Regions from separate parts of the Homo sapiens genome. Here region 2 is linked to region 1. Evidence: promoter capture Hi-C in human tissues and cell types (Jung and others, 2019). All regions are on one chromosome and are shown on one strand. The core of a region is centred on a gene start or on the middle of the fragment in contact, and the rest is flanking DNA. Distances in the headings are between cores, read along the strand shown.

The links. The method cuts DNA at HindIII sites, captures the fragments that hold promoters and counts their contacts. A contact is called where the count stands out against the background at its distance.
Region 2: a contact is called between a fragment that was not itself captured here and the fragment with the promoter of TRIM41 in region 1, in 1 of the 25 tissues and cell types used here (lymphoblastoid cells).

Annotation. Positions count from the first base shown.
Region 1 is chr5:181,221,148-181,225,736 of GRCh38, reverse strand. TRIM41 (tripartite motif containing 41) reads right to left here and starts at 2,456. Exons shown (of 6, transcript NM_033549.5): 1 at 925-2,456. The coding sequence starts at 1,737. TRK-CTT2-3 (tRNA-Lys (anticodon CTT) 2-3) reads left to right here and starts at 3,686; the gene lies at 3,686-3,758. TRV-CAC1-5 (tRNA-Val (anticodon CAC) 1-5) reads left to right here and starts at 3,270; the gene lies at 3,270-3,342. MIR4638 (microRNA 4638) reads left to right here and starts at 3,104; the gene lies at 3,104-3,171. RefSeq lists enhancers at 563-1,560, 2,228-2,457 and silencers at 1,708-1,917, 3,188-3,417, 3,668-3,877. The HindIII fragment of the contact is 24,392 bases long and covers 1-4,589 here.
Region 2 is chr5:181,177,170-181,181,758 of GRCh38, reverse strand. No RefSeq gene overlaps it. Among named protein-coding and RNA genes, the nearest start is that of TRL-AAG1-3, 5.3 kb to the right of the region's middle. The HindIII fragment of the contact is 3,593 bases long and covers 667-4,259 here.

The sequences.
Region 1 (4,589 bases), core at 1,207-3,706:
CAGACTCCAAGAAAGTCACATCAGAAAAGTCAAACAACAGACATCCAAATGGTGGTGGCGTTGTTAGTATACACCAGGGGAAGGGACAGTAAATAACTAAGTCAATTATTACTGAAGCTCTGTGGCCCTCTGTATGGTACTTAAAGCCTCTCTGACTTTGTTTCCCAATCTATAAAATGGGAATGGAAAACATATCAAACTCAGTGTTGTCTGGGTTTTAACGAGACAGTCCATGAAAAGTGCCTAGTACAGTGCCTGGTATACATATAAATGTCCAGTGAATATTAACTATCAATCCTGGACAAATTAAAGTCCAAAGACACTCACAGACTTAATCAAGATTTGACAATGCAACTTGCAGAGCCAGGTCTTCTGACTGAAAAGCTCCTGCTTTCTAGTCAGTGCATAAGAATGACACAGAGCCAACCAAAGTCCTTGAAGACAGAACCAAGCCATATCGTGGTAGGTGGGGAACCCACTGGGAGGCAAGTGCAGAGCATTTGGGTCTGACACTGACACTAGCAGTTATCTCTGTGTTCCTGCTTCTGAGCCTTTTCTTGTCCTTTGAAGCCCCCAGTTCTTTCCATCTCTAGGTGTCTCCGTCAAGGACAGACTTAAGACTCACCCGAAAGAAAACGAGACTTCTGGTAAAGCCCTAGAGACCTGATCTGGCATCACCGGCTTTGCTCTATTTGCTTTGAGGAAGCCATCCTTCCCTGGTCGTCTTCACTGCATCTGCTCTGTGTACAGAATCCTTCTCATTCTAATCCACCTTGGTGGCAGTAAGTGCTTAGATAAGCAAACTTGGCTCACCAATACCATGAGGTTCTTTGGTGGGTGAAGAGATGTTTCCTTTTCCCAGGTCCCCTTACTTCCTCTCCATCCCCCCACTAAACTCCCATCTTCTCTCTGTACTTCTCTCACCTTGTACTCCTGCACCACCTCCTCCAATGGCACCACGCTGTGCTGTTTGTGGCTCCTGGATTCTCGGCACACCACACAGATGGCCTCTTCGTCTACCTCGCAGAAGAGCTTCAGGGCTTCTTGGTGTTTGGGACAGATGCCCTGATCGGTCACGCGGCTCCCTCGACCAGGGGTTGGGTGCATCTGCCGAATCACCTGGACCATATTGGCCAGCTGCAGGTTGGGGCGGAAGCTCCGCCGAGGAAAGCTCTTTCGGCACTGAGGGCATGTGAAGCACCTCCGAGGGGCTGGAGGCGGGGGCAGTGGGGTGACGGGGTCTAGATCCTCTTCCTCAACCTCCTCCAGCACTTCCTCCTCGTCCTCCTCATCCTCCCCCCTCAGGTCCTCCTCCTCCATGTCCCCCAAGTAGTAGTCCAGGTCTTCCTCCTCGTCCTCCTCCTCCCACACATAGTCCATGTTGTCCCAGCTGGACCTGCTCATGCCACTGGTCCAGAACACACCCTCTTCTTCCTCCTCGACCTCCTCCTCCATGTCACCCTCGTAGTCTTCATCCCGCATGGGGGTGTCCCACCCCGCGCCAGCCCCCACAGCCTCCACTTCCTCCTCCTCTCCGTCCTCCTCCTCCTCCTCCCGATCTAACTCATCTCTGTCCTCCTCATCCTCCCCACCCCACAACTGGGTTACACAAACTCGGCAGAAGTTGTGCCCGCAGCCGATGGACACGGGGTCCGTGAAGTAATCGAGGCAGATGGCGCACACCGCCTCCTCCTGAAGGGTCTGCACAGGGTTGGGTGTCATGGCAACGGCAGCCATCTTAGTGTCCAGCCAGCCAGTGTAGAGGTTCGGTGGGGGGGCGAGGGGCGGGGGTCTTCCCTACCGACGCCCTGGCGACCCGGCTCCACCCCCAGCCCTGCCCCTCCACACCTCGCCCCAAGAGCAGCCAGAGAGATGTCCTGCCGACAACCCACCCCAACACAGTGTTCCCTACTCCCAAACGACAACCGTGTCTCTACGAGGGGAGGGGACAGTGCTGGGCGCCACCGCCAAGTCCCTCAGGTGGCTCTGAGTACAAGTCTGCCCCAATGCTCCCTTGGACTCCTCATAAACCCCCGCCCCTCCTCACTTCCTGGCCCCGCCCCTAGCTTCCGGCCTCCTTCCCAACACTTCCGGCGTCTACACACCACCTAAGCTCGCGACTTCCCTCCGCTGTCCTGCTACTCCCCCTTTTTCCCCGCGGGGCCCCAGGGCGACAGGAAATGGCGAGGAGACGCTCTAGTCCGCACTAGAGAACAGGGCGGGAGGGCTAGGACGGTGGAGGCCCGCGTCTCTGTGGTAAGAGGCCGCGGGGAACGCAGAAAGAACAGAGGAACCGCCTACCCCCATCCCCCGCCGCTGGGGAGAAACTTCGGGGGGTAGGGGGAGCGCCTGGCGGCCGTCTGCTTTCGGTGCTATCACCGCATCGGCCAGACGCCATCCTACCCTCCCGGCACAGCCGACTGCAGCCGGTACTCCCCACAGCCGATGCCGGAAGCGAGGGGGTGGGTCCGCGGCGCGCCCTGAAGTACTTCCGGCCCTTCTAGGCAGACGACTTCGTTGTGGAGGACTCAGAGGGTCGTCCGGGTCGGACCGGGGGCGGGGCCTGAGAAAGCGCTTCGCGGGTTAGGGCAGCAGACGCCCCACCCTTCCCCAACTGTAGTCGGCGTTTCGCATCCGAGGTAGAAACTGCCAACCGGACACTGTCTCATGGTTTAGATGAACTTCCCTAACTGCCCAGCAGTGAAGAAGTGGTGACGAATCATTACATCTACATTCTCACAGCATCTCTGCAAAAATAGATGCTTTGTGCGGTAGAAATAATACTTGATGCTTAAATAGCTCTTTAAATTTTATTTTTATAGAGATTTGATGTCGATACATAAATAAATAAATGTTGTTTGATGCGAGAAAAATGACGGGGCCATGATTTATGTACAGAATCTCCAGTGAGTGCCAGACACAGCGTGACGCCAGGGCTGGGCCTGCAGAACTTACCCTGCTCTCAAGGCGGCTCGCGGGAAAACTCCAGATGGACGTCGCGCTTCCTAGGGGGGTGGTCAGGCCTCTGAGTATGTCAGATCAAACGCGCCAAAAACCACGAACCCTCGTGGGTGAACTATGCTAGGCCATTACAGGACCTGCGGACTCGGCTGCGGTGGACAAGTCCGGCTCCAGAACCTGGACACCGCTCAGCCGGCCGCGGCAGGGGTCCCCGGGCCTGTCCTACAAGGGCGCTTGCCTAGAGCTATCCCGGCCGTCTCAGCCGTGTGTGTCTTCAGGACGATGCCGGCAGGAAAGTAGCCAAGGTGGTTTCCGTAGTGTAGTGGTTATCACGTTCGCCTCACACGCGAAAGGTCCCCGGTTCGAAACCGGGCGGAAACACGTTTTGGTCTGTTCGGGAGATTCTCTCCCGAGGCCGGCCTTACGTGGCAGGAAGGACATGTGTGTCCCTGCGCTTCGGAGGAACACGGACTGGGGCAAAACTGAAGGAGAGCACTACTCAAGTAAATTCAGGTCTCGCCCCTCACCTAATCTCTTGCTCTTCCCTTCTGAAGCCTATGCAGCCATCACATGTACAGGAATCCGTAGATTTCAGATCCTCGGCTCTAGTGCCTAGAACAGAGCCAGGCGCAGGCGCTTCTTAGTATTTGCACAGTGGAAACGTGCTTACACCTCTGAGGGTAACCTCCATCTTCAGAGACAAAGTTAGAATACAGACATGGCCGCCCGGCTAGCTCAGTCGGTAGAGCATGAGACTCTTAATCTCAGGGTCGTGGGTTCGAGCCCCACGTTGGGCGTAATTTCGCTTTTTGGAAAGGTTAAGGCAAGTTGTGTTACCTAAGTGCACAAATGGTATTCTCTGTACCAAGACCTAGTGGGTAGCAGATTCACCAACAGTGGGTGTTAGAACTTGGACTAACCTGGTGTTCTCCGATCCGTGTGTGGAAGGCCCCGAGCAGAATTCTCACAACGTTTGCACCCTCGCTAACTCTCAAAGAAAGAATGAGAGGCGGGTACCTGTGGACCAATTCCTGCAGGCCAGCACCGCGGGCTATCGTGCATGCATGACCCTTTGCTGTAGGCCACTCGCCCACGGGCAGCACATATTAGGCATTTTATGTTTACCAGACGGCCTGCCCCCGTCTTGCTGTGAGACTTGCTGTGCTGGAGGGAACAATGTGGTTTATCGAAACTGGGGTGAGACCGCAGGACGACCCCAGGCGTTCGTGAGCGTCAAAACCTATCTGATTCACTCCCACTTTACTGGGAGATTTAGTGGTTAGGCTTCCGCCTTTGTCTCGCTACGACCTGCTTTCGACTCCCTGTCAAGAAAGATGCTTTGTGTCATATGAGACACTTGTCTTCCGTATATTCTTTTTTATGCTCTTGACTTTAAGAGTCTATTTTTGTGAGATGTTGCCCCACAAATACCAGCCTCCACGTTTCCCCCATACATAAATAGAGATAAAAACGGGCCATGCGCCGCGGTGGCTTATGCCTGTAATCCCAATACTTTGGGTAAGCCAAGGCGGGAGGATCGCTTGAGCCCAGGATGGCCTCGAAATTAGTCCTGCAAATATAGGCCTTTTTTCTTTTTTTCTTCTCTTTCTTTCTTTCTTTTTTTTTTT
Region 2 (4,589 bases), core at 1,214-3,713, 44 kb after region 1:
GGTCCTTTCATATCACATGTCAAATCATAGTTCTTGTAGGCACTTTGAAATATCACTTATGCTCATTAGTACTTAAAAATTATGGTAATTGTCCTGGCAGTGTGACTCACAGCTGTAATTCCAGCTATTTGGGAGGCCAAGGTATTTGAATCGCTTGAGGCCAGGAGTTTGAGACCAGCAAGGGCAACATAGGGAGACCCCATCTCTACAAAAAATGCAAAATATTAGCCAGAAATGGTGGCATGCACCTGTAGCCCCAAGTACTTGAGAGGCTGAGGTGGGAGGATCCCTTCAGCCCAGGAGGTCATGGCTGCAGTGAGCTAGGTTCTTCCCACTGCTCTCCAGCCTTAGCAACAGAGCAAGACCCTGTCTCAAAAAACCAAAACCAAAAACAAACAGAAAGAAAGCATTATTCTGAGAAGGAGTCCATAACTTTCACCAGACTGGTAGTCCATGGCCACCCATCTTTAAAAGGGCTCAGACTCGGCTGGGCGTGGTGGCTCACACCTGTAATCTCAGCACTTTGGGAGGCTGAGGCAGGTGGATCACTGGAGGTTAGGAGTTCAAGACCAGCCTGACCAACATGGTGAAACCCCGTCTCTACTAAAAATACAAAAAATTAGCCAGGCATGGTGATGGGTGCCTGTAATCCCAGCTACTCAGGAGGCTGAGGCAGGAGAATCACTTGAACCTGGGAGACAGAGGTTGCAGTGAGCTGAGATGATGCCACTGCACTCCAGCCTGGGCAAAAAGAGTGAAACCCTGTCTCAAAAAAAAAAAAAAAAAAGCCTCAGAGTCTTGCAAATAGTACAAAAGAGTTGTGGGTCAAAGGTGGAACATGAAGTCCCCCTTTGATAAATGAGTGAGTGACTTTCGGAGAACCAAAAGCCCCACAGATCCAAGAGTAGTCAAGTAGGGCTGCTAGAAGAGCCCCATGCTTGTGAGTCAGGAGGGAGGTGCTGGTGGCCTCATCCAGGGCACTGTCAGGGGACAGGTTGGTGACAGCTGAGGTGCCACCTGGGACTGGCCAGGGCCAGAGGTGATTGAACTTTTGCAACGGATGTCCCCAGCTGAGAGTGAGGACTGTGCAGGGTTGGCTTGTTGAATCAATGAAGGATTATTACCAATCATATATTTTCTTTCCATTCATTCATTCATTTATTTATGTGCCTAACTCCTGTCCCACATCCTGTCTAGGTGCTAAGGGGACAAAGGTTCCTGGCCTCAGCACACTCTCAGATTCACAGGGAGACAGAACTGAGACTGAGAGCTGGTTCCTCTCCCTCTCTCGTGGGGATACAGTGAGAAGGCAGCTGGGCAGAAATCAGGAAGAGGATCCTTACCAAGAACTGCAGTGTGCTGCACCCTGATCTAGACTTCCAGCCTGCGAAACTGTGAGAAATCAATGTCATTGTTTGAGCAGCCTGGCATATGGTATTGTGTTACAGCAACCCGAACCAAGACAAAGGTTCTCAGCTGGGGAGACAGAAACTCATCTGGAGCCTGCACTCCCCCTGGGGAGGGGAAGATGCCTGTCGACCTGGACAGAGGGCCTGGACAGAGGCAGCCCTGGGCTGAGTTGGCCCTTGCTTGCCGCTTCTCCTTGGGAGCACTGGGACAGGATCCCAGAAGGTTCCAGAATGCATGTCAAGCAAGCAGCAGTCCCTGTGGAGTTTGGGGTAACATGCACAGAGGAAGAAATGGCGGAAAAGCAGCATCAGGATGGCTTTAGGGCAGGGAGCTGCTGGAAGGTGGCAGACAGAGTGAGCAGGGGCAGGAGATGGGCCAGCGAGGCACCCGCTGACATGGAAGTGCCGTCATGCGCTGCACAGCAACCTTCCAGGCAAGGAGGGACACGTGCATGACAGTGGTCCCATGACTATGATGGAGCTGAAGAATTCCTATGGCCTAGGGATGTCATAGCCGTGGTACTGTCGTAGCACAGACGTCACTCGTGGGAGCGATGGGCTATGCCACCCAGCCTAGGGGTAAATGAGGTGCACCTTCCAAGAGCCACCTAATCACCATTTCCCAGAATGCATCCTTGTTGTTAAGGGGCCCGTGACTGTATGTCTTGGGAAGCAACACGTGACTGTTGTCCCGCCCTGCACTGACTGCCCAGCGAGCGCTCAGAATGCATTAGATATGGGGTGGACAGAGGAGGAGGACAGCACCAGCACCCAGACAGCAACTTCCCTTGGAATCACCATTTCCTGAACCAGGGGATCTCCCCAGCCACCCACACCAAAGCCTAAACTCTCATACCTCCTCTCTCTAAAGCAGGGGTCTGCAAGCTTTCTCTGCAAGGGCCACGTACAGAATCTTTTCAGTTTTGTCGGAAGTACCCACGTCTGCCCTTTTGGTGCCAAAGCCAGTAAAGGTGACACATAATGAGAGGGAGGCGCCGTGTGCCAATGGGACATGTGTGCCAATGGGACTTGACTCACAGACACCAACATTTGAATTTCATCTAATTTTTACATGTCATGAAATATTATTCTTTTTATTTTTTTAACCAGTAAAAAATGTTCTTAGCTCGCTGGGCTGGAGAGAAATAGGTTGCAGGCTGGATTTGGCCTGAGGGTAGTTTGCTGACCAAGGGAAAGGGAAAAAACCAAACTTGCTCTAACCCACCTCTCTCCCTCCAGTCCCATGCAGTCCCACTTTCCTTATTTTTTTATTTTTTATTTTTATTTTATTTTATTTTTTTGAGACAGGGTCTTGCTCTGTCGTCCAGGCTGGAGTGCAGTGGCACGATCTCAGCTCACTGCAATTCTCCTGCCTCAGCCTCCCAAGTAGCTGGGACTACAGGCGCCCGCCACCATGCCCGGCTAATTTTTTGTATTTTTAGTAGAGATGGGGTTTCACCATGTTGGCCGGGATGGTCTTGAACTCCTGACCTCAGGTGATCCGCCCACCTCAGCCTCCCAAAGTGCTGGGATTACAGGCATGAGACACCGTGCCCGGCTTTTATTTTTTATTTTTGGGTAAAAACAAAATTATCTCCACCATTAATTTTTCTTCCTTTTGACTTGGTTTTCTATTACACAGGTAACTCTGTTCTCTCCACTGAAACGCCGCCATTACCATGTGCTCAATTCCCAAACACATTCGAGTCTCTTTATTGATTCAGTTCCACTCCATTGATCTTCTTGGTTCTTCCTGCACCAGGACCAAAGTTATTACAGTTAATAATACATGGAGGCTTATCTTTGTGCAGATTTCTTTGTACCGGGATTTTCAGAAGACTTTCCTAGCCCTGGAAGGCTGGTGTAAAAGAAAGGTTTCTTTCGGCCGGGCACGGCGGCTCACGCCTGTAATTCCAGCACTTTGGGAGGCCGAGGCGGGCGGATCACGAGGTCAGGAGATCGAGACCATCCCGGCCAACATGGTGAAACCCCGTCTCTACTAAAAATACAAAAAATTAGCCGGGCGTGGTGGCGGGCGCCTGTAGTCCCAGCTACTCGGGAGGCTGAGGCAGGAGAATGGCGTGAACCCGGGAGGCGGAGCTTGCAGTGAGCTGAGATCGCACCACTGCACTCCAGCCTGGGAGACAGAGCAAGACTCCGTCTCAAAAGAAAAAAAAATAAATAAATAAATAAATAAATAAATAAATAAAGACAGGCATAAGAAATTATAAAAGTATTATTTTGGAACTGATAAATGTCCATGAAATCTTCACAATTTATGTTCAGAGATTGCAGTAAAGACCGGCGTAAGAAATTATAAAAGTATTAATTTTGGGAACTGATAAATGTCCATGAAATCTTCACAATTTATGTTCCTCTGCTGCAGCTCCAGCTGTTCCCTCCATTCAGGGTCCCTGACTTCCTGCCACCACGCCCAGCTAATTTGTTGTGTTTTTAGTAGAGACGGGGTTTCACTATGTTGGCCAGGCTGGTCTTGAACTCCTGACCTCAGGTGATCCGCCCACCTTCGCCTCCCAAAGTGTTGGGATTACAGGCGTGAGCCACCGTGACTGGCAGGAGCGGCTTTTTAAAGCTGTCATTGGTGAAGAAGTAACAGCCACTGGTTTTGTCTGGGTGGGATGTCTGGTGCTTTGTGGCTGGTGCAGTGAGCTTGCTTCCACCCCTGCTTCGGTGCAGTGACGAAGTGGCCTCGCGTGGTCTAATTTAATCTCGGCCTCCGAGTAGCCCTGTCCAGGGCTGTATTCTGCGGGGCTGCTTATGTCCAGCAGGCTGTGAGTGCCCGTTAGCTTCCAAATGGCAGGGGCTTCTCTTTAAAAACTTATTTTTCTCAGAAGTTGTCATGGTCCTTGGTTGCTCCCCGTGGCCTTGTGTCCTTGCTTTCCTGGGATAGCCTCAATGCAAAATATTTTCCTCTCATCGACCAGAATGAACTGCTGGCATTTGGATCTGAAAATCTACATCCTATAAGAATATTCCTGATGCTTTTTAAATGTTATCTGCTCTTTGTTTAAGCACCTTCTACATGCCAGGTATTCATTCAAAATGAACTTACGAACTCCATTTTTTTTTTTTTTTTTTTTTTTGAGAAGGAGTCTTACTCTGTCACCCAGGCTGGAGTGCAGTGGCGCGATCGCGGCTCACTGAAACCTCCACCTCCCG